Regions from separate parts of the Homo sapiens genome. Here regions 2 and 3 are each linked to region 1. Evidence: promoter capture Hi-C in human tissues and cell types (Jung and others, 2019). All regions are on one chromosome and are shown on one strand. Each heading gives the region's core, a stretch centred on a gene start or on the middle of the fragment in contact. The rest is flanking DNA. Distances are from core to core; before and after follow the strand shown. Region 1 holds the start of TMEM244 (transmembrane protein 244). Region 2 overlaps ARHGAP18 (Rho GTPase activating protein 18). Region 3 has its middle 31 kb from the start of SAMD3.

Region 1 (2,839 bases), core at 223-2,722:
AACTACAAAGAGATATGACTTCACCCCAGTTAAAATGGCTTTTATCCCAAAACAGGCAATAACAAATGCTGGTGAGGATGTGAAGAAAAGGACACCCTCATACACTGCTGGTGGGAATGTAAATTAGTACAGCCACTATGGAGAACAGTTTGGAGGTTCCTCAAAAGAGAAAAATAGGACTGCCATATGATCCAGCAATCCCACTGCTGAGCATATACCCCAAAGAATGGAAATCAGTCTATCGGAGAGGTATCTGCATGCCCATGTATATTGCAGCATGTTTCACAATATCCAAGATTAAGAAACAACCTAAATGTCCATCAACAGACAAGTGGATAAAGAAATGTGGTACAGGTACAGAATAGAATTCAGCCAAAGGAAAGAATGAAATCCTGTCATTTGCAACAATATGGATGGAACTGGAGGTCCTTATGTTAAGTGAAATAAACCAGGCACAGAAAGACAAACTTCATATGTTCCTACTTATTTGTGGGAACTAAAAATGGAAACAATTGAACTCATTGAGATGGAAAGTAAAAGAATGGTTACCAGAAGCTGGGAAGGGTAGTGGGAGAAAAGGGGGAGTGTGGGGATGGTTAATGCATACAAAAAAGAGAGAGAATGTATAAGATCTAGTATTTGATAGCACAACAGAGTGACTATAGTCAATAATAATTTAATTGTACATTTAAAAATAACTAAAAGGGTATAATTGGATTGCTTGTAACACAAAGAATAAATGCTTGAGGTGATGGAAATCCCACTTACCTTGATGTGATCATTACATATTAGATGCCTATATCAAAATATATCATGTACCCCATAAACTCTATGGGGTATATTACTATATTACTATGTAATCACAGCAATTAAAAATTAAAATAAAAATAATAATAGAGTTGGTGCCAGTAAAAAGATGGGAGAATGAATTGTAAATGAAGGATTGGTTCTGGAGCCTCAGGACGCAGAGAGACAGAGCTCCAATACTGCCTCCTGGCAGTTCTTGAAAACATTCTACCCACAATATTGTGGCCATTATTTTAGAGTATGGGAACCCTTTTGTTTCCTAACAAAAAGTCATAAGTTTTACATTTCTTTGCCATGATGTGAAAGGAACTGATGATTTCTTTCTCAGAACTCTGTGGCCCTTGTGAGTGAAACAGAGAGGACAGGCCACGCTTCAACATGAATGCAGCAGCATCCTTTGGAAACAATCTCAAGACCTAACTGAAAACCCATGTTTCTAATTTAAGTATGAGACAGTAATTACTCATACAGCCAGAGAGGATTCCAAGTCCCTGCCTATTTGCCGCACTATCTAAAAACAATCAACTCATCTTTCAAATCTGACCAAACTACAAATGGTATGAGAACTCCATCGTTTAATAAGGATGTTCATTTTGGCACTTAGCAGCTTACGCGTGGCTCACAGATGGCATCTGTCTCGTTTTGCGTAATCCAATCATCCTGCACTACTGCGTCTCACACTTAGTCTCCAGGAGTAATTGAAAAGCTCACGGTGACAATTGTGTCTTCTTCCAGATGTCATCGCTATAAGGAGTGGGGCTTTCATCACCTCCTTGACGTAGGATGTGTACATGGCTCTCCAGGTCAGAGTTGCTCCAAGCAAGGTAAAGAGAAATTACTTCTTTGCATTGCCTTTCAGTTGCTGCCTAGCACTGGTGTAAATGAATATGTTCTATAAATGGCCTCTCTGTCAGTGGGCAACTTGTTTCACTTTTGGCTGGGTACCATACAGAAAACATTCTGCTGCACGGCTTGCATCTTGTGGTAATAGGGCAATATAAAGGCACCCATGCCCAAGAAAGGATTCTAAAACATGTAAATAGTCGCTGTTTAGAAGGCACCATTTTATTCGGAGGTAAGCTCTCTGGTATTAGCACCTGCACGTCTGCTATCGTTTTCTGAAATCATGACAGTTTGTTCTCAATCTTTTTTTCTTTTTTTTTTTTGCAGGGAGTGGCTTTTATTTTTGTAACTTCTAAAGGGTGCGCAAAATTTTAAATGCAAAGTGTTGAAACATTTCAAGCTGTAGGTTTGTTAGTTTCTTTTTCCCCCGAGGCTAGTGTTAATAGTTGTGTTTTACTTCAGTGCAAAAATACCCCTTTAAAAAAAAATCAAACAATCGAAAACAAGGAAATATGCAAAGCCTCAAAGCAGCTGTGTAAATTCATACAGGCTTTAGGCCTATAATGAGCCAGACTTAAGGGAATGATAGTGGAAAATCAGATTTTTACTTAAAAATTAAATTACAATTATGAGTGAGTGCTACATTCATTTTAGTAAAATATCAGCACCGTGTGTATTTCCTCAAGCTTTTTCTTTACACTACCATCATCACCACATATGTCATCAGTGAGAAATGTTGAGCATGACAACAGCTAAGAAAAATTTTCAAGGTCAGTAAAACATTATTTCAGGAAAAATATTTTTAAAAAGCTTATTTTTAAGGGGTTATTAAACTTCGTAATTTATGTATAGATTTGGGATTGAACTAGCAATAATAACTTCTGCTGAAGAGATAAAAATTAGAAGATAAAATCCTTTCTCTTAAGTAGCTTACACAAAGAATGGGGGCTCTATATTTAGTCGGGGCTTACACAGACCAGACAGACAGACACACACACACACACACACACACACACACACACACACACACACGCATTGCAGAGAAAATATCCAGATAGTTGCTGCAGTTCCTCACTATCTTAGAATCATCTGAGCTTCAAGTGTAGAATTAGAGCCTTAGAACATTAGAAGAATAGTGAATATGTTCAAAATAGATAGGTTGTTGACTATCTGAATTCTCATGATACAT
Region 2 (3,126 bases), core at 563-3,062, 280 kb after region 1:
GGATTTCTGAGTGTTCCTTCACTGGGCCTGTGATGGGCTTGCCAAGCGAGACCACTCAGTATTCTTTCCAGGATATGTTGATTGGAGGTTAATTACTGTTTGTAGGCTGTAAGGAAAATTACTAATTAGGATGCAGTGGCATTAAAATAAAGAAAAGACACAACTTTTTCTATGAAATATAATGGATTTCAAAATGGTCAAATTTAAAAACAAACCATAAAGAATTGAAAGAGGAAAACCAGGCCTTTGAGCGCTGAAGTCTCAAGGGGAGAACATACCATCCTCATTAAGGACAACAGGTCCTTCATCTATATTTTGGGGTTGATGGGGCAGGGAGAGTCATTTGAAAGCTGCTAGCATCCCTCTCACTATATTAGAGTATGCCCTTTCCAGAACACTTTGCAGTGTCTTCTTATATTTTAGAGATCCTAACAAGTATATTGTATTTTCAGGTTTTGCCCTTTGAATTCTTTCTTTTAGCTGAAGTCATGTTTTCATGCCTCCTCCAGCCTCATTTTCAGTCACTGAAATAAACTAAATGTTTAAAAACAGAGGGACATCCAGGGCATTGGCATCTCAGTTTACGAATACTCTGTCTTGGTCTTTCATTGAATTTAATCTCCTCATTCTAACATTTGGGGGCTTCAATCAAGCTTTCTGCTAAAGCACAAGGCCTTAAACAGAACAGAAACATGTTAAATACTTCTAGTACCATAATTGGAAGGGGAGGTATAAACATATATTTTAAAGTACCTTCCCATAGGGTTTATAAATTGGGAGAAAGGATGAATCTGTGCAGCTAACAGATGGTGATGAAATGAGAGAGAGGCTTATTGGTAATATCTAGGCTTCAATAAGCCAGTGTAAACTTCCCTCAGAACAGCACTCTGAAGTAAGTGCTATTATTACGTCTGCTTCACTGATAAGAAAACAGAGATTTACAAGGTCACACATTTTTCATAGGTGGTAGAGCTGGAATTCTAAATCTGTGGTTTCCCTCCAAAGGTAGTCCCTTAACCATTCTCCACACTGGCTGGAGGATCTACAGAGCATCATAGATCTGGGAACCACTAGTGCAGAGACTGAGAGTAGATGTGTTTTTGGAGATTATGTCCTGAGGGCACTTGGAAGATCTCAGATGTCTTTGCTCCCTATAGTGTCTTGCAGTTTCTGCAAAGTCAATCCACATCCTCTCTGCTCCCTACCTTGACTTAGTAGATACTAACTTTTGCCATTCTTCCCACCAGCCATGCTCTCATTCTCTCCCAGAACGTGTACCTGAAGACCTGGCCAGACTTCAGATATAAGCAGCTCTTTCCAGCCAGACACAGTTAATTTACATTTACTTTCAGGACCCAAGTGCTCAATTTAGTCTGTACTTTTGTTCCTCTACTTGCTAATAATATGAGACTATGAAGCTGTACCCCACATTCAACTGTGACTTTAATATTTAAGGTATAGCATGAAAACAATCATAGTCATATTGTTATAGAAAGCACCAACTTGTGACAACTATCGTCTGACAAATTTGGATTTTCTGCTTGTGGTGTTTGTATTAAATAAGCATTTGCTACCCCCAGAGCAGGGTATCTTCATCCCGCTCTTCCTCCTATTCCTTCTCCACCTAGATGGAAGTCTGGTAAACTTCTCCATTTACCTCACTTCCGCCCCCAGTCCTCAGCCCCTTTCCTTATGCTTGGGGATGTAATCTGGATTTCAAAGCTAACTATTTCTGTTTCACCTTCAGTTAGTTTTTATCATCTCTTTAAGTATCAAGTTCCTCATTTGTAAGAATGGACCAGAATAGCATCTATTATTGTAATTAACTAGGAAAATGACCATGCAGCATATAGCACTGTCTGTCTGGGCCGCATAGTAAGTGAAATTCTGAGTAAATGTTTATATATTTCTTCCACCACATTCCTGTGCTTCTTCCATTTGTATTCCACCTGTGCTGGGGCAGGTAGAAACTCTATATCCTTCCATTCTTTTTCTCCCCCACCTCGTCAACTGAAGCCAATGGACATATGAATGATATACAATATATGTATAATAAATCGCACGTTCATTCATTCTTTGGTAAAGGATTGTTGCCTTTAACGATGAATTTGTTGATTAGCATTACGCAAAAATCTGAATATACCAGGAAATCTAGTTCCTGTTTCTTTAAAGTAGAACACAGGTACTTGAGAATCAGTCTGACAGCAATATCTAACTAGATGTTTTTCTTTAAATCAAGTCTCCTGAAACATTCAATTTGGTTTTCACAGAAATAGGGACTCTCTTTAGACCTATAGTAGTTGATTGTGTTATGTACTAGATTAAAAACAAAAATAATAATGATTAAATTATTTAATTTAAAAGATAAACCTACACTGTAGTTGGAAACAAAGTGGATCAGATGCAGTGCAGCAGGTGGAACATAGCGTGAGGGCCCAGAGAGCCCTGACTGTCCAGTGTGCCAGGGACACAGGGCAGGGAGAGAAAGGAGGAGAACCAGATGAGCCATTCCATGGGTGGTGAGGAGCGCTGCTGCTGTACCATGCTCTTCCTAATGGCTTGAATACAAGTCAGACCTGATTTTCTCTTCTCAGTTCCAGAGAGTGTGTCTTCAGGGCCTTATCTTAGTGGTCCACTAACCTTGCCATGCTTCAGAATCCACTATAGAGCATTTGAAAAGCAGTTTCTTGGGCTTTATCCTAGACCAGTTAAATCTGAGTTTCTAGAGCTCTCCATCTGAATTTTTAGCAGGTTTCTCAGGTAATTCTTTTACAGAAAGATAATGACATAATTTGCTTCCACTCTGAGGGTCTGTGCTGCCCTCATTTGCACAACTGACAGAAGAGAATGGCTTATTCTTTTTTTTTTCTTTTTGGAGACAGGATCTCATTCTGTCACCCAGGCTGGAGTGCAGTGGCACAATCTCAGCTCACTGCAACATCCATCTCCTGGGCTCAAGCAGTCCTCCCACCTCAGCCTCCCGAGTAGCTAGGATCACAGACACTCACCACCATGCACGGCTAAATTTTTTGTATTTTGGGTAGAAATGGGGTTTTGCCATGTTGCCCAGACTGGGCTCAAGCGATCTACCTGCTTTGGCCTCCCAAAGTGCTGGGATTACAGGCA
Region 3 (2,700 bases), core at 180-2,679, 390 kb before region 1:
ATCCAGATAGAAAATTAATAAGGAAACACTGGACTCAAACAATGCTTTAGATCAAATGGACCTAACTGATGTTGCAGAACATTACATCCAACAGCAACAGAATATGGGTTCTTTTTAAGCACACACAGAACATTCTTCACGATAGATCATATCTTAGACCACAAGACAACTCTTACCAAAGTTAAGAAAACTGAAATCATATAAAGTACCATTTTCTGATCACAATGGTATGAAACTAGAAGTCAATAACAAGAGGAATTGTGGAAAGTTTACAAATACTTGGAAAGTAAACAACATTCTCCTGAACAACAAATAGGTCAATGAAGAAATTAAAAGAGAAATTGAAACAATATCTTGAGACAAACATGGAAACACAACATACCAAAACTTATGAAATGCCACAAACACAGTTTGAAGAGGAAAGTTTTAAGCAATGATTATTTACATCAAAAAAGAAGAAAGATATAAAATAAACAACTGTACACCTCCAGAAAATTTAAAAGCCAATTCTACCAAACATTTAAAGAAGAACTAATACCAATTCTTCAAAAATTTCCCAAAAAGTCAAAGAGGAGGGAATACTTTGACACTCCTTTTATGAGGCCACTATTACCTTGATTCCAAAGCCAGACAAAGATATCACAAGAAAAGAGTAATGAAGAATCATCTGAGAAACAAAGCAAAACTATCCAGTTATGTATAAGGAGGAAAAATCAGGCTGGCTTCAAACTCTTCACAGCAGTATTCAATACTGGCTTACACCTGTAATCCCAGCACTTGGGGAGGCCAAGGCAGGCAGATTGCTTGAGCCTAGGAATTTGAGACCAGCCTGGGCAACATGGCAAAACCTTATCTCTACTAAAAATACAAAAAGGCAGGACTCGGTGGCTCATGCCTGTAATACCAGCACTTTAGGAGGCTGAGGTGGGTGGATAACCTGAGGTCGGGAGTTCGAGAGTGGCCTGCCCAACATGGCCAAAGCCTGTCTCTATCAAACATACAAAAGATTAGCCAGGTGTGGTGGCAGGGCACCTGTAATCCCAGCTACTCGGGAGGCTGAGGGAGGAGAATTCCTTGAACCTGGGAGGCAGAGCTTGCAGTGAGCTGAGATCACGCCACTGCACTCCAGCCTGGGCAATAAGAGCAAAACTCTGTCTCAGAAAATAATAATAATAAAATAAATAAATAAATAAATAAAAATACAAAAAGTTAGCTGAGCGTAGTGGCACACACTTGTAGTCCCAGATACTTGGGAGCTGAGGTAGGCAAATCAAGTGAGCCCAGGAAGTCAAGGCTGCAGTGAGCCATGATCTTGCTCCTGCACTCCAGCCTGGGTGACAGGAGTGAGACTTTGTCTCAAAAAAAAAGATGGGTAACTACAGCAAAATGCTTACTGGGACATTTTGAATGTATCTAATTACAGACCTCAGACCAAAACAAACATGAGCAATACAGTAACAGGAGAGAATTTAAATGTTATATACCCTAACAATGAAGATACACTAATAACAGGAGGAGAGGTAAGGGGTAAATAACATTATTTAATGATGAAAAATCACATAAAAGAGGTATAAGCACATTTATTAGTACAAAGATATACCCCCCTCCACCAAAAAAAAATAATAATTTTAATTTGGTGGCAAGGAAGAAATAGAAGGAAATATTACACTAATTTATTTCTTAAAATAGAAAGCATTGATATTTACTTTAAAAGGTGAGAATATAAAATTATACATATAACACATATTTAAAATCTTATATTCTATAAATATAGCATTGTTGAGTTATATTTATAAAATTATAGAAAAATGCAAGTTCTCTTAACTGTCAGAAGACTTCTGCAAATAAGACAAGAAAATGGATCACATTGTTAATGATTTTTAAGCCCTAAAATATTCAAAATAACACACAAGGTAAATACCTAGAATTAAAGATATTATCATATCAATAAATGTAAGCTCATCTATTGAAAAAGAATTTTAGGTAGTAGCTCAAGATGGTTGTAGCCCACTGGTTCCAACTAAACAAGGACTGCACCCAGACTCACAAGAACTTGAAGTTTTCCTCTATTCTTTCTGCCTCCGAGAGAAGCCAGAGCTGGACTCACACAAGGATAAGAAAAAGAGCTCACTTATTTTTGTCTTATTTCAAATTACTTCTACCACAGGAAACTTGTCACTAATAAAGAGTTCCCAGAAAAGGATGTGCTGGAAGTAGTGAAGTTTTATAACACTGCATCTCCTGCGCAATTGCTAAGGAAAGGATACAGCACAATATGAACTGAACTTCACTAGGTTGTGTAAAGTATGTACACAGAATCCTGCAGAGGCATGGAAAAAACCTGACCCAGATGGCCTTCACCTGTCTGATTACTGGAAATGTAAACAGCTAATCAAGAATGGCGTTTTCTGTAAGTATGGAAATTATGACTAAAATAATTTTACCAATGTCATCGTCTTAAAACCTACCAAAAAGCAAAGATTCTTCAGGAGAGCAGATACCCAATATAGACTGAGAATGTAACACCAAAATTCCAGGGATCGAGAGAACCCTTCCACAGAGCGCATCTCTGAAGCTTGCTCCTGTGCCACAGCTGAATTAATAGTTGAAGCTAAGCCTACCAGTGGACAGCTGTTTTGGTTGCCACAAAGGAATTCCAACCCAAATCCAGGAAACCAAAAACAAACGACACTTCAGGCG

Evidence for each region. Contacts are between HindIII fragments. The study calls those that stand out against the background at their distance.
Region 2: a fragment that was not itself captured here is called in contact with the fragment with the promoter of TMEM244 in region 1 in 2 of the 25 tissues and cell types used here (aorta and hippocampus).
Region 3: a contact is called between a fragment that was not itself captured here and the fragment with the promoter of TMEM244 in region 1, in 1 of the 25 tissues and cell types used here (H1 embryonic stem cells).

What each region holds. Positions count from the first base shown.
Region 1 is chr6:129,859,948-129,862,786 of GRCh38, reverse strand. TMEM244 (transmembrane protein 244) reads left to right here and starts at 1,472. Exons shown (of 5, transcript NM_001010876.2): 1 at 1,472-1,631. The coding sequence starts at 1,599. All of the region lies in intron 2 of LOC105377999 (a long non-coding RNA gene), which reads right to left. The HindIII fragment of the contact is 10,214 bases long and covers 1-2,839 here.
Region 2 is chr6:129,580,624-129,583,749 of GRCh38, reverse strand. The region is part of intron 13 of ARHGAP18 (Rho GTPase activating protein 18); the gene reads left to right. Among named protein-coding and RNA genes, the nearest start is that of ARHGAP18, 130 kb to the left of the region's middle. The HindIII fragment of the contact is 6,052 bases long and covers 1-3,126 here.
Region 3 is chr6:130,252,669-130,255,368 of GRCh38, reverse strand. It overlaps a transcript of SAMD3 not described here. Among named protein-coding and RNA genes, the nearest start is that of SAMD3, 31 kb to the right of the region's middle. The HindIII fragment of the contact is 7,672 bases long and covers 1-2,700 here.